6 separate regions of the Homo sapiens genome follow, and regions 2, 3, 4, 5 and 6 are each linked to region 1. Evidence: promoter capture Hi-C in 16 types of primary human blood cells and fetal thymus (Javierre and others, 2016). All regions are on one chromosome and are shown on one strand. The core of a region is centred on a gene start or on the middle of the fragment in contact, and the rest is flanking DNA. Distances in the headings are between cores, read along the strand shown.

What was found. The method cuts DNA at HindIII sites, captures the fragments that hold promoters and counts their contacts. A CHiCAGO score of 5 or more calls a contact.
Region 2: a contact is called between the fragment with the promoter of JDP2 here and the fragment with the promoter of LINC01220 in region 1, in 1 of 17 cell types (monocytes). The highest score is 13.5, in monocytes.
Region 3: a fragment that was not itself captured here is called in contact with the fragment with the promoter of LINC01220 in region 1 in 2 of 17 cell types (activated CD4 T cells and naive CD4 T cells); the score reaches 7.3 in activated CD4 T cells.
Region 4: a fragment that was not itself captured here is called in contact with the fragment with the promoter of LINC01220 in region 1 in 14 of 17 cell types (total CD8 T cells, activated CD4 T cells, total B cells and 11 more); the score reaches 19.0 in total CD8 T cells.
Region 5: a contact is called between a fragment that was not itself captured here and the fragment with the promoter of LINC01220 in region 1, in 2 of 17 cell types (endothelial precursors and activated CD4 T cells). The highest score is 6.2, in endothelial precursors.
Region 6: a contact is called between a fragment that was not itself captured here and the fragment with the promoter of LINC01220 in region 1, in 1 of 17 cell types (activated CD4 T cells). The highest score is 9.0, in activated CD4 T cells.

The regions. Positions count from the first base shown.
Region 1 is chr14:75,292,958-75,295,657 of GRCh38, reverse strand. LINC01220 (long intergenic non-protein coding RNA 1220) reads right to left here and starts at 1,254. Exons shown (of 3, transcript NR_038421.1): 1 at 1,117-1,254; 2 at 921-981. RefSeq lists a silencer at 1,017-1,476 and an enhancer at 1,547-1,686. The HindIII fragment of the contact is 10,176 bases long and covers 945-2,700 here.
Region 2 is chr14:75,426,645-75,429,344 of GRCh38, reverse strand. JDP2 (Jun dimerization protein 2) reads right to left here and starts at 1,323. Exons shown (of 4, transcript NM_001135048.2): 1 at 1,093-1,323. JDP2-AS1 (JDP2 antisense RNA 1) reads left to right here and starts at 1,690. Exons shown (of 2, transcript NR_184172.1): 1 at 1,690-1,875; 2 at 2,634-2,700. RefSeq lists silencers at 675-844, 905-1,084, 1,335-1,604 and enhancers at 1,270-1,827, 1,795-1,854, 1,875-2,204, 2,455-2,554. The HindIII fragment of the contact is 6,934 bases long and covers 1-2,700 here.
Region 3 is chr14:75,518,670-75,521,369 of GRCh38, reverse strand. LOC105370572 (a long non-coding RNA gene) reads right to left here. Exons shown (of 3, transcript XR_944037.3): 3 at 1,596-2,700. Among named protein-coding and RNA genes, the nearest start is that of BATF, 2.4 kb to the left of the region's middle. The HindIII fragment of the contact is 1,347 bases long and covers 685-2,031 here.
Region 4 is chr14:75,152,033-75,154,732 of GRCh38, reverse strand. It overlaps TMED10 (transmembrane p24 trafficking protein 10), which reads left to right. Exons shown (of 5, transcript NM_006827.6): 2 at 2,590-2,700. Among named protein-coding and RNA genes, the nearest start is that of TMED10, 23 kb to the left of the region's middle. RefSeq lists an enhancer at 1,705-2,369. The HindIII fragment of the contact is 480 bases long and covers 1,028-1,507 here.
Region 5 is chr14:75,090,659-75,093,358 of GRCh38, reverse strand. NEK9 (NIMA related kinase 9) reads left to right here. Exons shown (of 22, transcript NM_033116.6): 19 at 1,881-2,089. Among named protein-coding and RNA genes, the nearest start is that of ZC2HC1C, 22 kb to the right of the region's middle. The HindIII fragment of the contact is 1,986 bases long and covers 393-2,378 here.
Region 6 is chr14:75,535,771-75,538,502 of GRCh38, reverse strand. The region is part of intron 2 of BATF (basic leucine zipper ATF-like transcription factor); the gene reads right to left. Among named protein-coding and RNA genes, the nearest start is that of BATF, 15 kb to the right of the region's middle. The HindIII fragment of the contact is 5,692 bases long and covers 1-2,732 here.

The DNA of each region.
Region 1 (2,700 bases), core at 5-2,504:
CAGCTGAGCCAGGCAACAGGGTTCTGAAGCACAGGAAATTAGAAGCACCTAGGCGATGTGGAACACTATTTGAAGCTAGATATCCTGACTTTTATCAGTTTCTAACTAGCTGTGCAAGTTTGGATGGTCGAACCAACTTCTCTGAGCTTTAATTTCCCTGTTGGCGAAATAGGTTAAATTAGATTAAAAGTCTCCGATGTGACTTCCAGCTCTGAAACTCTGGAAAACACACACTCCTTCAGCCAGAGGAACTGGGGAATCTAGGGGGCAGGGATGGGGGTGGGAGGATGGTGACAGGCGTCTTGAAGGATTAACCCCACGCTTCTCCTCGCAATTGCAATCGGCTCCCCAGCAGCGGCCACTGCGGCACTGCCTGCCCCACCCCCGCCCTCTGGGCCCGGCGGTACACACCCACGGCTCCCTCAGAGACTTCTGGAATCTCGCTGGATTTCTCCCAGGAATGCTTATTGCCCTTTAGATCTGCAAATCGCTTTACATCAGCAACCCTGCCGCGCGATTATTAATCATCTCAATATTCTCCCCCATCCCCTACCCTCCCCCTCGCCCGGCCTGGAAGAGGAATTGCAGGGGTCCGGATTTATGAAGGTGATTCGTATTATTCATTCAATAATCAGTTAACTAAAGTTCATTAAGCGCCTAATAGGAGCAAGGTGCAGAGACACACAAATCCAATCACCACAGGGGGCAGAACTGTAGGGGGTCGATGCTCAAAGAACTTCACTGATATTCCAGTTATGTCCTGGGGAGGGGGTGGTTAGAGGGTGATGGAAAAGCTCCCCTCACAAGCCTGATGACAGTGCTGCAACCATTATGGACCACCCCCACGGTTCGTTTTATCATGCCAGGAAAAGGAAAATGGCCTTCCCAAGGTCACTTATCCCCCGAGGGGCAACACTGACCCCAGAACCGCCGTCTTCAAAGCTTTCCACTGTGCCATGAAGGAAAATTTTGAGTTGAAGCCTATAAAATACAGCGTTGGGCGAGAGATGGCATGATTTCCGGGCACAGAGTGAGAAAATCGTGATCCCAGATCACCCACCCACAACAAACGAGACCGCCCCAAATCTTGACTGCAGCTACAACCAGCAGACGCACAGGAATGCTGGAAACAGCTCATTCATCCATCGCGGCGCCCTCTCTCTGGGCCCCCAGCGCCCCTGCCCTTGCCTCCGCCTGGGTGGGTCCCGGGACAGGAGGCGGGGGTCTCGTGGCTCGGAGCCTTCGCCCAGCATTCCAGGGGCGGGGCAGGGACCGGGGGCGGGGCGCGGCGGGAGTCCCGCCCACAGCCTACCCCGGGCCGGCGGCGCAGTGGCTGAGCCAAATATGGGCAGAGCGGAAGCGGCGGGCCGGCGTCACGGCGCCGGGTGGGGGCCGCGCTGCGGGGCGGTGACGGGAGTCGCTGACGGCGCCTACGTGTCACCGTGGAAACCAAACAGTAAACAGAGGACTCGCGAGCTCCTGGCACCGTCTGGCCCTGCGACCTGCCCTGGAGCAAAGGGCCGGAAGCTGGGAAGGGCCAGGAGAAACCTTGGCCTGGCCGACGAGGACAGGGGCGCGGCAAGGGTGTAGAGAGGGCGGTGGAGGGGACGCTGAGAGAGCACTCCCAAACGTCCCTCCCTGAGGTCCCTGGAAGCCGGCTCTCCCTCTGCCCACGGGCCAGCAGGGGCTGGTCAGGAGCGGAAGGAGGCCCTCCTGTCCCTTCTTTTTCTTTTCCTTTGTTTTTTTTTTTTTTTTTTTTTTTTTTTTTGAGATGGAGTCACGCTCTATCGCCCAGGCTGGAGTGCACTGGCGCGATCTCTGCTCACTGCAACCTCTGCCTCCCGGTTCAAGCGATTCTCCCGCCCCAGGCTCCCAAGTAGCTGGAACTACAGGCGCGCGCCACCGTACCCGGCTAATTTTTTACATTTTTAGTAGAGACAGGATTTCACCACGTTGGCCAGGTTGGTCTCCAACTCCTGACCTCAGGTGATCCGCCCGCCTCGGCCTCCCAAAGTGCTGGGATTACCGCGCCCGGCCTCTCCTGTCCCTTCTGAGGGCCTCCGTGCCTGCAAGGTTGTTGCGGATACTGATTTTGCTTTGTTTTTCCTTTCTAATGGCTAAGAGTTCAGGCATTGAAGCCACACTGCCTGGACTCTAATTCCAGCGCTGCCACTCCAGTTGGATGATCTTGAGCAGACCTCTGCGCCCCAGACTATATTATTATCTACAAAAATAAGGATAATAGCAGGACCTACCTTTAAGAGTAGATGAGGACTTTTAAAATGAGTGTGTGTGTGTGTGTGTGTGTGTGTGTGTGTGTGTGTGTTTGGAACAGTGTCAAGCATGTTGTGAGCCCCAAGTTAGTGTTAAGTGTTTATTTTTATTCCCAGGCAGCACAAGAGAAACTTACGTAGTATTAGTAGTGCATCTCCTAAATCTACTACTGACGTAATGTTTTTTTTCTCGAGTCTTCTTTAGATTTAAAATAAAAGGGGGCCGGGCGCTGTGGCCCACGCCTGTAATCCCAGCACTTTGGGAGGCCAAGGCAGGAGGATCACTTGAACCTAGGAGTTCTAGACCAGCCTGGGCAACATAAGGAGACCCCGACTCTACAAAAATAAAAAAAAATAGCTGGGCATGGTGGTGCACACCTGTGATCCCAGCTACTTGGGAGGCTGAGGTGGGAAGATCTTGGGCCAG
Region 2 (2,700 bases), core at 74-2,573, 130 kb before region 1:
AGATATAGACCTGAGCACATTTGCCCTGAGCACACGTGGTCGGGCCATAGCCCCATGCCCTGGATTCCAACAGGGAGGGCAGCACCCTGGGCAAGGGCCACGCCATCTTGCAACTGGAGATGACCCAAGGGGGTCGGCTGATTTCTCCTTCCACCAGCCTCTCCATCCCTGCAAAAGAGCCAGGACCTCCCCATCTTCCCCAGCCTCCTCATCTTCCCTGCTCCTCCTACTGACCCAGGCAAAGCCTGGCTCTGCCATCCCAGGGTCCAGGGATCCAGGTGGAAGGCCCAATCCACCCCTACACTCTCCCACCCCCCACTGCACCCCTACCCCTCGACAACCTCCTTTGAAGGGAGGAGCAGAGGAGAGCCTTCTAAGCTGGGCTGGGCAAGGGAGAGGCTGGTTACCTACAGGAGCCTGCTTGCCTCCTTATATAACCTGGCGTGGGAGACAGGAGAGCCCAAAGGGGACCCCGGCCACCCCTAGATCCCCTCCCAGCCCAGAGCTCCGAAGCAATGGCCATGAGAGAAGCTGCCTTCATTGGATGGAAATCCCGAGCCCTTCTCAATACTCTCCTCCGGGTCCGGGTCCTCCGGGAGTCGCGCTTCCTCACTGCCAGGAGGTCCTTGTCATCCCTCCACAATCTAACCCCGACCCCAACCCCGCACCTCCCTGGCCCTTCACCCTCCACCTCCACCCGCACAGCCCATCTCCGCGGGCACTTTTCTCCCCACTCACCCCGCCTTCCCCGCCGCCCGAGGAGAGCACCTCCCTGCAAACGGACGGGGGAGGAGAGCGCGGGAGGGAGAAGGAGGGAGCACCCCGGCTGTCCAGGGAGCGGACGGAGCCTCCCGTCCCGGGGCGGGAACCAAAAGGAAGCCTCAGGCTGCCGGGCGCCTCGCGGGAGGGGCCCGGCTGCAGCGCCCGGCGCGGGGAAAGCTCGAGGTCCCTGGGCTGCGGGAGCCTCCCCGCGGGGCTGGGCTGGGGCTCCTCGCGCTCCGCCCGTGCGGGGGCGGCCGTCCCAGGTGCCCGCGCCGCGCCCTGCCCCGCCCCGCCCGTCCCGGCGCCCCCAGCGCGCGCCCTCGCACCCACCGTGCAGAAGGTGCGGGGGGAGGCGGCGCCCCCGGGGCCGGGGCCCGGCTGCAGGCGCCGTGCCCGCTCCGCGCCGCTGCCGCCCGGCCGCGGAGCTCCGCCCGGTGCCCAGGCCTGTCCCGGCCCGGGAGCCGCCGCGGCGCCAGCCCCGCCGCCGCTGCAGCGTCCGCCGCCGCCAGCGCCCCCCGTCGCGGCCGCCGAGCGTCCCTCCCGCAGGCTGTGGCGGGCGGCGGGACGGGTTGCATCAGCCCCGGCTATATAGCGGCCCCTGGGCGGCGGGGAGGGGTCGGGAATGCGGAACCGGCCGAGCTGCCAGCTCCAGACGTCAGAGGGGGACGGAGAGGAAGGGAAGGAGGGGACCGGGGAGGAGGGGGTGTGGAGCCGGCGCTTCACACCCACTGACCTTAACCTCCCCCGCCGCCTTGGGCGCCCTCCTCCCGCGGCCGCTCGCGCTCCTCTCCCCGCGGGGGCGTCCCGGGTTCCATGCAGTCCCCCGGCTCCGCCACCCCACGGTGCAGGAGCGCTCGAGAAAGCAGGACGCGGCGAGCGGTTATGTAAGCGCACCCCCCGCGCACCGCCGCCCGGCTTGTGCCCGCCAGGCAGCAGCAGCCGCAGCCCTAGGAGAGAGACGCGAGAGGCCGGAGCCGGGGGAAAAGTCAAAAGCCCCTTCACGCACAGCCTGTGTTAACCATGTACCTCAGTCCCGGCGCTTCCCCCACAAACTGAGAGCGACAGGGAGAATTTCCGCACAGTTTCATCCTTGGACACTTCAGGACTGAGCGGGTGAGGAGGCGATCTCGCCAGCCTGCTTTATTTTTCGGTGGAGAAGGATGGGCTGAGATGAAGGCATTTGGGGACTCCTACCCCTACCCACCGGCCCCCGCCAGCGCCCTTAGGCCCCGAGACGGCTGGCTGCACCAGCCTGACCTCTGCTAGGGCTGCAGCCTGAGACCGCGGCTTGCTCTACTGCTGGCGCAGTTTGACCCTTGGGCTTGTACCCTGCTCCAGCGGGCTTCTCCTTTCCACTCCGGACACAGCAGTGAGCAGACCCAGCCCTCAGCAGACCCCAAGTGGCCTTCTTCCCCGTTCCAGCTTCAATAGCCAACCCCACTCCCACCTTCCATCCTTCTAGAGAGGAAATGGTGAAGGGGACTCCAGAGGGAAGGCGACATCCATGGTGCCCTCCAGTATACAAAGGCAGAGACACAGAGCCCTCAGGTAGAACGGGGTTCCCTAGATGGCATCTCCTACCTCCAGAGCTCCTGGGTACCCATCGAGCCCCCTACCTTCTGCCTAAGCCAGATAGGAGTGACGATTTTTATACTCAGCGACTTTCGGCCTCCTTCTGAGAGTGATGTCAGGTCATCACCCATAGAAGAAAGGAAGTGAAAGAAAAAGTTCATGCCTTCTTGGAGTGCAGATGCTCAGAGTGAAAGAAACAACAAGACTTGAGACAGATGGGTGCCATTGAGCAAACCCGAACATGCATGTCTCTCTCATGTGAGTGAGTGCATGAGACTTTATTCTCCTTATTTCCCCAGTGCAGTGAAATCTTTCTGGATAAAAGAAGTGGGCTAATGGAAGGAGAGACAGACCAAGTCCCAATGA
Region 3 (2,700 bases), core at 109-2,608, 230 kb before region 1:
TATTAAATTTTAGGATTGACAGGAAGTTACGGCTCCTAGAGGATTTTTGTATCCATGAGCTGAATTTCTAGACTAAGACAATATTGCCCTAAGGTTAAATTAAGTAAGACAAAATTCCTTTCCTATGGAGGAAAATAAAGCAGGGTTGGAGGTTAGGGAATTCTGGGTGGTCAGAAGGGCCTTGCCCAAAGAGGGGATACCTGAGCAGAGATTCGAAGAAAGAGAGGGAGTGAATGGTGAGTGTCTCAGGGAAGGACATTCCAGGACCTGAGGTGGAAGTGTGCTTGAGTATTGGAAAAAGAGCAGGGGGGCCAGGTAGTTGGATATCAGAGGCAGCAAAAGTGGCAGGCGATGAGGTCAGTGAGGTAATGGCCCGGTCAGGGAGGGCCTTAGAGGCCAACATCAGGATTTTAGCTTTCATTCTGAAAGACACAGTGAGCCCATGGAGGGTTTCCCCTTCCACCTTCATTCTTATCCTCTACCTCAGCTACTATTCATTTCTCCCATAGCAGTTACCCAATTTTATACTTATTTTATTCGTTTACTGATTTATCTTTTTCCTGTTTCCCTCAATAGAATGTTAAAACCATTTACACCTTTATTAATATATTCAACAAACGTTCATGGTGCATCTACCATGTGCCAGGCACTAAGTACTGAGGATACAGTTAGTAAAAAGAAGCTTGACTTTTTGTCTAAATGAGATAGTCTATCAGTGTTCGCTGCCCAAAAAACTACCAGAAACTTCGATGACTCAAGCCATTTATTTGGCTCATGAGTCTGTGGGTCATCTGAAAGGTTCTTTGGGGATAGGCTGGGCTAGGCTGATCTCGGCTAGGCTCGGTCATGTGTCCTCAGACAGCTGGTAGGTTGGCTGATAATTGACTGGTCTGGCCTGGCTTTGCCTTGGGCATTTCTCCTCCACATGGTCTCTCATCCACCAACAGGCTGGTCGGAGCATGTTTATTTGATAGTGGCAGGATTCCAAGAGTAGGAGCAGAAGCATTCGAAGCCCCATGGAACCCAGGCTCAGAGCTAGCACAGAACTCAGAACCTGCCACATTCTATTGGCCGAGGAGAGTCACAAGGCCAGTTCAGACTCAATGAGTTGAGAAACAGACTTCACTTCTCGATAGGAAAAATTTAACTAATTGTGGCAATTTCTACAATCTCCTACAGATGAGAAGCCATTGGAGGTGTCAGAGCAGAGGAGTGACATGATCTGACTTAGGTTTTTAGAGGATCTCTCTGGACACAGTTGAGATTTTACGATAGGGGAGCAAAGTGGAAGCAGGGAGATGAGTCAGGATTTCAGTATTGGATTACTGCAACCATCCAAACAAAAGATGCTGGCAGCATAGGCCAGTTAGACAGTGATGAAAGTGGTGAGAAGTGGGCCCTGTAAAAACCAAAGTCTGTGTTTCTCTTGTTTATAGTCATATGCTCAGTACCTAACAGATGCCGAGTAAATGGTTTTCAAACGAATGAATGCATAAGTGAATTCACTTTGCTCTTCATTTATGGCACTTATGACCTGCATTATCCTAGTGTATTGAAAGCCCTTTCAGGACAATAATAGTCATATTTATGTTTCATTCGGTTTAAATTAACATTTATTTATCACCTATTACAGAGCAGAATTCTTAAATATGAATAAGACAGAGACTCTGCTCTCACAGAAAAAAGAAAACATAGTCAAATAACCAAACAGGTTATTATAAATGTTACAAGCGTTCTAAGTATTACAGCGTATGGATGAAGTTCTTAGCTCTTTGAACATCCTATCATTCAACAAGTAAACACTTGTTGAATGAATGATTGCTTGATTCTGTCATTCCCAATCAATGTACTGATTTAATATTTAACAGAGACTAATGAGAGAAATGCAAAATTAGTTTTTACATAAAAAGACGGGTCTTATTTAATAGTATTAATTATACATTATTTTTAAATATTTAAGATTAAAAAATAATAAACACTTATGTAGCCACCATTAAGCTGAAGAAATAAATTATGAATAGAGCCGAAGCTTCCTTCATCCCTTTCTAATTCCGCTTCCTCCCCACCCCAGGTAACCCATTATCCAGATGTGGGGTTTATCATTCTTATGCATTTTTCTATACTTGAACCAAACCTGTATGTATGCCTAAGCAATATATAATATTGTCCTGCAGGATTTTAAACTTTTTACCTTGCTAATATTTTTTATTTGATTTTCAGCATTGTATCTGAATGGTAATGGCAAGGTTTGGGATATACACATCCCACTGATGTTATCCTGGAGAACTCCAGGAAGCTACCAAGTAACAGTTATAATAAAACTGGCATGCGCTCAGTGAACATCAGCCTAAAGCCTAAAGATAGTATTAAGGTAGTGGTTGCTGGATACTACAAACCCTTATGCTGACAGCTGGCTGATATAGGGCCTGGTACAAACTAGAAAACAGCGCCACCTCTAGGTAGGCAACCTCATACCAAAGCGTATGGCCTGGCAAGCCCTCACTTGACCTCTCAGGTTGGAGCCCTTGAACAGTGAACAACCTGCACAACTATACCTAGCATCCTTGCCATATGCTACTTACTGTGTACCGGGAATAGTATATGAATTGGCTCCATTTAATTCTCATGACAGTCACAGGAGGTAAGCACCGTTTCCCCACCTCACCCCATTTTATGTATGTGGAATATTGAGGCACAAGG
Region 4 (2,700 bases), core at 18-2,517, 140 kb after region 1:
GAGATCGCATCACTGCACTCCAGCCTGGGTGACAGAGCGAGACTCTGTCTCAAAAATAAATAAATAAAAATAAATTTAAAAGTTTGACAAATTAGCAAATGGTGCTGGATGGCAGAAGACAGTTGACTAATACTACTGTTTATTAGGGAATTTAGAAGATGTGCCATAAAACTTTTTTTAGTTAATCTGTCATTTCAAATTTATCTAGTAGTGATAACTTTTCTTTAGTTATTATCAATTTTTTCCAAAATAAAATAACTTTATTATTATTTTTGAATATAAGTGATCCAGTGATACATGCCTTTTTTTTTTTTTTTTTTTTTTTTTTTTTGAGACAGAGTCTCGCTGTGTTGCCCAGGCTGGAGTGCAGTGGCACAGTCTCGGCTCACCGCAACTTCTGCCTCCCGGGTTCAAGCGATTATCCTGCCTCAGCCTCCAAAGTAGCTGGGATTACAGGCGCCCAATACCACTCCTGGCTAATTTTTTTTTTTTTTTGTATTTTTAGTAAAGACGGGGTTTCACCATGTTGGCCAGGCTGGTCTCAAACTCCTGACCTCAGGTGATCCACCTGCCTCGGCCTCCCAAAGTGCTGGGATTACAGGTGCGTGAGCCACTGCACCTGGCAGAGCTACCACGCCCGGCTACATGTCATTTTCAAAAAAGGCCGGGTGTGGTGGCTCACGCCTGTAACCCCAGCACTTTGGGAAGCCGAGGCGGGTTGGATTATGAGGTCAGGAGATCGAGACCATCCTGGCCAACACAGGGAAACCCTGTCTTTACTAAAAATACAAAAAAATTAGCTGGGCATGGTCGTGGGTGCCTGTAGTTCCAGCTACTCGGGAGGCTGAGGCAGGAGAATCACCTGAACCCGGGAGGCGGAGGTTGCAGAGAGCCGAGATCACGCCACTGCACTCCAGCCTGGGGACAGAGTGAGACTCCATTTCAAAAAAAAAAAGGGAAAAAAAAATAGAAAGTCTCACCCCTCAGAAATAACTACTGTTATAAAGTACTTTTAAATATATAAGCTTAAATGTGTGCTACTTAATTTTCCTGCTTAAAATTTCCCCTTAAAAGAATTATGTTTTAACAAATAGCATTAGAACATCCAGTTTAATGTAATTAAGCCACTACTTTTGTGTTCCACATTGCAAAGTAGCTTCCAGTCTTAAGTGATGAAATATGCTTTCTACTAAGACAGCCACGTGCTCTAGAAATGAAGGCTAAGATCCAGTCTGTTAAATTACCATGGAATTCCCTTGCTTTGTATGTGGCTGTTTACTTAGCAGTATATGCCCTTTATTCTGTGCTGATAGGCCATTCTTTGGTAATAGAGCAGCTTAAGTCTGAAGAGCTAAAGCTAAGGATCTAGAAGAAAGGAATAATCATTTATGGAAGCCAAAGATACCTTTTTTTTTTTAGGATAAATTTCTCTCCTTTTTGTTTTTGTTTTTGTTTTTTTGAGACAGAGTCTTGCTCTGTCACCCAGGCTGCAGTGACACGGCAAGCTTCCCAGTACCTGGGACTATAGGTGCGCACCACCATGCCTGGCTAATTTTTGTATTTTTTGTAGAGATGAGGTTTCGCCATGTTGGTCTTGAACACTTTTTTTTTGAGACAGAATCTCACTCTGTCATCTGGGCTGGAGTGCAGTGGCGCAATCTTGGCTCACTGCAACCTCCGCCTCCCAGGTTCAAGCGATTCTCCTGCCTCAGCCTCCTGAGTAGCTGGGACTACAGGCATATGCCACTGCGCCCAGCTGATTTTGGTATTTTTAGTAGAGACGAGGTTTCTCCATGTTGGTTGGCCAGGATGGTCTTGATCTCTTGACCTCGTGATCCATCCGCCTCGGCCTCCCAAAGTGCTGGGATTACAGGCGTGAGCCACCGCGCCCAGCCAGGTCTTGAACTCTTGAGCTCAAGTGATCCTCCTGCCTTGGCGTTCCAAAGTTTGGGATTACAGGCGTGAGCCACCATGCCTGGCCAGAAACTTCTTTTTTGTTTCCTGTGTTTTGTTCCCACTCTACCTGGCCGTTGACATAATTAACATGAAATTTGCAGGAATAGATCTCCTGGATTGTCTTCTCTATGTATGCTTTTCTTCCTGCTGTCCTTGTATTGTGTGTCCTAATTTTATTCTCCACCCACACCCCTTCCCCATCAAATTTGTTTTATAGAATAAATGTGTTTTTATATATCTTTGTCCCTCTTGTATAATCTTTTGATAATTGTCTACTTTCATTTTTGTGACATGTTCCTCTATGCGGAATGATACTAGTGAGTTTTTGCCAATAAATCCAATGTATGTAACTTGGAGCATTAGCTAGATTAACTTTTTGGTATGGTAAGACATCCTATAGCAGCAACAGATTTTAGCCCACAGTGTGATTAGGCTATTTGAATGGATGAAATTTGCTGTATTTGGATTTAATCTTCTAATCCAGTTTTTGTCTTTGGGGATGGTTGGAACATAGTCATCATAATGAGAACTATCAATTGTCTTTCATAGATAGTGTCTCTATCTTCCCAGTTTCTGTAAGTTCTCTTCCTGAGTGTTATTTGCTGCCTATTCTTACTACTTTTCTTATTTTAGATCACAGATTCTGCTGGCCATATTCTCTACTCCAAAGAGGATGCAACCAAGGGGAAATTTGCCTTTACCACTGAAGATTATGACATGTTTGAAGTGTGTTTTGAGAGCAAG
Region 5 (2,700 bases), core at 136-2,635, 200 kb after region 1:
CTGGGTAGGAGGCCAGAGAAGGAAGGAATTCACACGGCAAATACAGTGATATAGGTAATGCTCTAGTTCAGCAGTGTCCAGTAGATCTTTTTGCAACAATGGAAATGTTCCATATCGGTGCTGTTCAGTATAGTAGCTACCAGCTTTCTGTGGCTATTGAGCACTCCAGAGAGTGGCTTGTGTGACTGAGGAACTGAATTTTTAATTCTCTTTAAGTTTAAGCGGGCACATATGGCTAGTAACTCATATTGGATAGTGCAATTCTAGTTCTAGTGGCAAATAGACCTATGTTTATTGTTAGGCATGAAAATTTACACGTATGTTAAAATAGTCTTAGGTATATCTAAAATGCAGCATAATCTTAAAAAGCCATTTAAAACAAAAAGTAAGCTTCAGAACTCACTTTGGTAACTATAGTTCTGCTGCTTCCGTAGGATCTCAGCATGACCCAGTTAGTCCCCAGGCCAGCACAGCAGGTGATAATTAACCCTTCTTTACATTTAGCCTCAGAAAATACCAGGCATCAGAACAAGGATCCCTGAGGAGTAAGAGAAAAAAAAAAAGAAAATACCAGGCAATTTTTCTTTAACTTTGACAGATTAATCTTCTTAATTATATTTTTATTTGGCCCATATTAAAATTCAGTTTCATTTCCTGACCACACATCAGCTAGTCTTCATTAAGGTTGCTTGGAATATGCTGTATGATATGAAAGAATCAGCCATTATATTATAAAAATGGATACAGATAGTCGTCAGAGAATGTAATATTCACATTAAATTTTGAAGAATTGGCCGGGCGCAGTGGCTGACGCCTGTAATCCCAGCACTTTGGGAGGCCGAGGCGGGTGGATCACTTGAGGTCAGGAATTCAAGGCCAGCCTGGCCAACATGGTGAAACCCTGTCTTTACTGAAAATACAAAAATTAGCCAGGCATGGTGGCGGGCACCTGTAATCCCAGCTACTCAGGAGGCTGAGGCACGAGAATCACTTGAAGCCAGGAGGCGGAGGTTGCAGTGAGCCAAGATCGTGCCACTGCACTCTAGCCTGGATGACAGAATGAAACTGTGCCTCAAAAAAAAAAAATTGCTGGGTGCAGTGGCTCACGCCTGTAATCCCAGCACTTTGGGAGGCCAAGGTAGGTGGATCACCTGAGTTCGAGACCAGCCTGGCCAACATAGTGAAACCCCGCCTCTACTAAAAATACAAAACTTAGCTGGGCATGGTGGTGTGTGCCTGTAATCCCAGCTACTCGGGAGGCTGAGACAGGAGAATTGCTTGAACCTGGGAGGCAGAGGTTGCAGTGAGCCAAGATCGGGCCACTGCACTCCAGCCTGAGCAACAGAAGCTAGACTCGGTCTCAAATAAAAAAAAAAAAGTTGAAGAATTCAACATTCAGATTTTCCCCGGACAGGGAGTTAATGGTAAGTTTATCTGGCAACTTTAAGAGGAGTTTGGCTCAAATATTAAAGACCTTTTTATATAAGATAAGTGTCTATGGAGGATGCTGGAATCTGAATGTATCTCTTAAAGAAGCAGAGTAAGCATGGGTGCTAGATTTGGTGGGCTGTGGTTGGGGGGATTGTTTGGTAATGCTTTTAGAATATTGATAACCTGCTATGGATACAAGATAAACAAAGTTGGTAAATGGAAGTGAATTATCATTATGAGCATCCTGATATACAAATACAACTATACAAAATTACAAAACATAGTTTGTATGAAAACCAAAAATTTAGTCCCTAACATTTGACTTGCACTGTTGCCATTGCACTTCATGCAGCTTATAGGCACCTTTCCAGGGTAAGTAGGGTTGTCAAATGGTAAATCTGTCTTGCTGCATAGCAAAGCTGTCTATTTCTGTGCTGTATATCTGTCAGTGTTTCAGAGCTCTAGCCCGGGAGGAGGCGGCGGGGGCGGCGGTGGTGAAGAAGAGGACAGTCAGCAGGAATCTGAAACTCCTGACCCAAGTGGAGGCTTCCGAGGAACAATGGAAGCAGACCGAGGAATGGAAGGTTTAATCAGTCCCACAGAGGCCATGGGGAACAGTAATGGGGCCAGCAGCTCCTGTCCTGGCTGGCTTCGAAAGGTAATTCCTTTGGAAGAAGTAACTTGGATAAAATATGTGGCCCTTTGCAGGAACTAGAAAGAGCTGTCAGGGTCTCTCAGTTTTCCAAGTACCTAGTAAACTGTTGTGCATCCTGAATCCAGCCTTCTGATTTCTACCTGGAAAGAAATTGCCTAATCACTAATCCTTTTTTCTTTCCAAAAAGATAAAAAATGTTCTCATACCCTTGTTACTTAAGTGAATGTATTATAAGTTACTATAACCTACCTTGATGGCAGTTTTTGTAGTACATGTATATAAAGATTAAGCTTACAGATTTTATACTGTCATTTATAGAAATGGAATATTGGAGCAGTTGGAATGCCTTACAATAGGAAAATGGTTGATGAAAGTTGAGATACAGAAAGTAAAAATGTTGGATTGGGCACAGTGGCTCATGCCTATAATTCCAGCACTTTGGGAGGCTGAGGCAGGAGGATCACTTGAGCCTAGGAGCTCAAGACCAGCTTGGGCAACACAGCAAGACCTTGTCTGTACCAAAAATTTAAAAAATTAGCCGGGTGTAGTAGTGTGCACCTATAGTTCCAGCTACTCAGGAGGCTGAGGCAGGATGATCACTTGAACCTGGGAAG
Region 6 (2,732 bases), core at 121-2,620, 240 kb before region 1:
TCCACATATTCAGGTACAGACCTGATAGGCTGCAAATGTACTGCTTCTGATTCTCAACCCTGGCTGTGCACACTGCCAGCACCCGGAGAGCCTTAAACAGTCTGGATTCCTGGATGCCAGACCCCCAGAGGTTCCAATTTAATTGTTCTGGAGTGGTTGCAGGCATCAAGACTTTAAAAATGCTTCCTAAGTGAGCCAAATGGGCAAAAAATCATGTTCATAGTGGATTCCTTTTAATAATAACATAAGGCCAGGTGCAGTTGCTGTAATCCTAGCACTTTGGGAGGCTTCTTTGGCAGGAGGGTCATTTGAGCCCGGAAGTTTGAGACCAGCCTGGGCAACATAGTGATACCCAATCTTTACAAAAAATTTAAAAGTTAACCAGGCATAGTGGCACACACCTGTAGTCCCAGCTATTTGGGAGGCCAAGGTGGGAGGATCATTTGTGCCTGGGAGGTGGAGGCTGCAGTCAGCCATGATCGCACCACTGCACTCCAGCCTGGGAAAAGAGTGAAACCTTATCTCAAAATAATAAAAATATAACATAACTATATAGTGTTTGATTTTATTAAATTTGTTTGTTAACAAACAAATTAAATTTGTGAGACTTGCCCAGTTGTGAAAGGCCAAGCCCCTGAAACTACTGATATCCTTAAAGAGTTTATATTTTTACATATTTTCATTTTATTAAATATGTATTTTATTTTATCATTTATAGTATAATATTAAAAAATTTAAAGAGTTGGGAGACTATTTCTAGTTAAAAAAATTTCTAAAACAAAATGTCCATTTAAGCACACTACTATTATATTCTTAAATTGGTGGAAACAATTCTAAATAGTCCAGCACAGTTCATTCATATAATGGAAAGGCAAGAGCTCAGGGATCTATTCGTGTTTCATTAATTATAACTTTAACCGTTTCGTTTCCTTACCATTTACATTGTTGAGCTCTGTGAGGGCAGGAGCTATTATTGTCTTCACTGTTTTGTTCTCAGTGACAAGGACAGTGCCTGCCATAGAGTAAGTGTTCGATCAAATCACGTTGCTTGACTGCCAACTTATAATCTGGAATAATTTTCCAAAATCTGAGATGTGCCTATGAAGAAGGGTCAGCTGAGTAAATCTGTGATGTCCATGAGAATTCCTAGAGAGTGATTAACCACCACTCAAACACTTTAATAGCTTCTACTTTGTAAATCTGGGATACTTCCAAATGAATCCAAGAGATTCATTTTTTCAAAAGGCCTAGGTCAAACCTCTGTTTATTCCCCAAACTGAACCAACAGCGTGGGAGTGGCAGAATTACAACCACTTTAAGAACTTCGTCGTGCCATTTCCCTAGTTCAAATTTGACCCTCTCTCCATTCATACCCAACAAAGGAGACTTGCCTAGTTGTGAAAGGCCAAGCCCCTGAAACTACTGATATCCTTAAAGAGTTTATAAGCAACCAGAAAGAAGAACGTGTGTGTTCATGTAGGATAATATATCTGATTGATTTCTAGGAAAAGGGCAGGCTGTCTGCATTAAACAAAGGAACAGTGTAAAAAAAAAATGACAATATTGCTTTGTTCTTACATTTGCCCTCTCAATTAAACGGTCAAACAGCCTAGTGAGGTGCTATTGCTTCTCAACTTATGATCAGAGTTTAGGTTCAGAGAAATCCCCCAGGCAGGGTTTGAATTAGTTGGGTCCCCACCACATGCCCCATCCAGTTCCTGCTCCTAGCAGCACAATTGCCTTTATTTTATTTTATTTTATTTTATTTTATTTTATTTTAAAGACAGGATCTTGCCCTGTTGCCCAGGCTGGAGTGCAGTGGTGCTATCACAACTCACTGCAACCTCGACCTCTTGGACTTAAGCAAATCTCCCGCCTCAGCCTCCCAAGTAGGTGGGACCATAGGTGCATGCCTGGATATTTAAAAAAAATTTTTTTTTGTAGAGATGGGGTTTCACTGTGTTGCTCAGGCTGGTCTCGAACTCCTGGCCTCAAATGATCCAACCAACTCGGCCTCCCAAAGTGCTGGGATTACAGGTGTGAGCCACTGTGCTCAGCCCTACAATTGCCATTATTACTGAGTTCCTCCTCACTCCCTTATGGTCTTGAACTTGGTCTCCACCTTACCAAGCACCTTTCTGACCTTTGCCTGGCCTCGCAGCTTGGCCTCAAGGCTCTCTAGGCTGAGATCACCCTCTCCCCAGATCTTTCCAGTCTCCTCTTTGATTCACCTTTGATCTCAAATTCCAGGGCCTCAGGAAGGCCTCCCCTGATCGCTGCCCCAATCCCGTCCCTTAGACACTTTCCACATTGCATGATTTCATCTTCTTTGAAGCACTTTACATGTCATGTGATTAGTGTGTTTATTTGTTTTCCAGCCTGACTTCCAACTGACTGTAAGGTTCGTGAAATCAGAGACTCTGTCTGTCCTGTCCCTGCAATATTCTCAGTGCCTAGAACGAACTGTTCCTGGCTGATAAATATTTGTTGAGTAGATGAATCACTTCCGCTGATCTCAGCTCTAGTACTGATAATATGGCCTTTGCTTTATAATTTTCTGTGTCATCCTACTCTCTTAATGATAAGACATATTCTTATGCCAGCTGAGTACCCTTTTTTAGTTACAGGGTCCTCAGTTGCAGGAAATCACATTTTGGTCATAGGAATCCAGTCCCCTCTACTTGACTCTGAACTTTATCACTTCTGAGTTTTCATAAGAGCTTCATGTCATC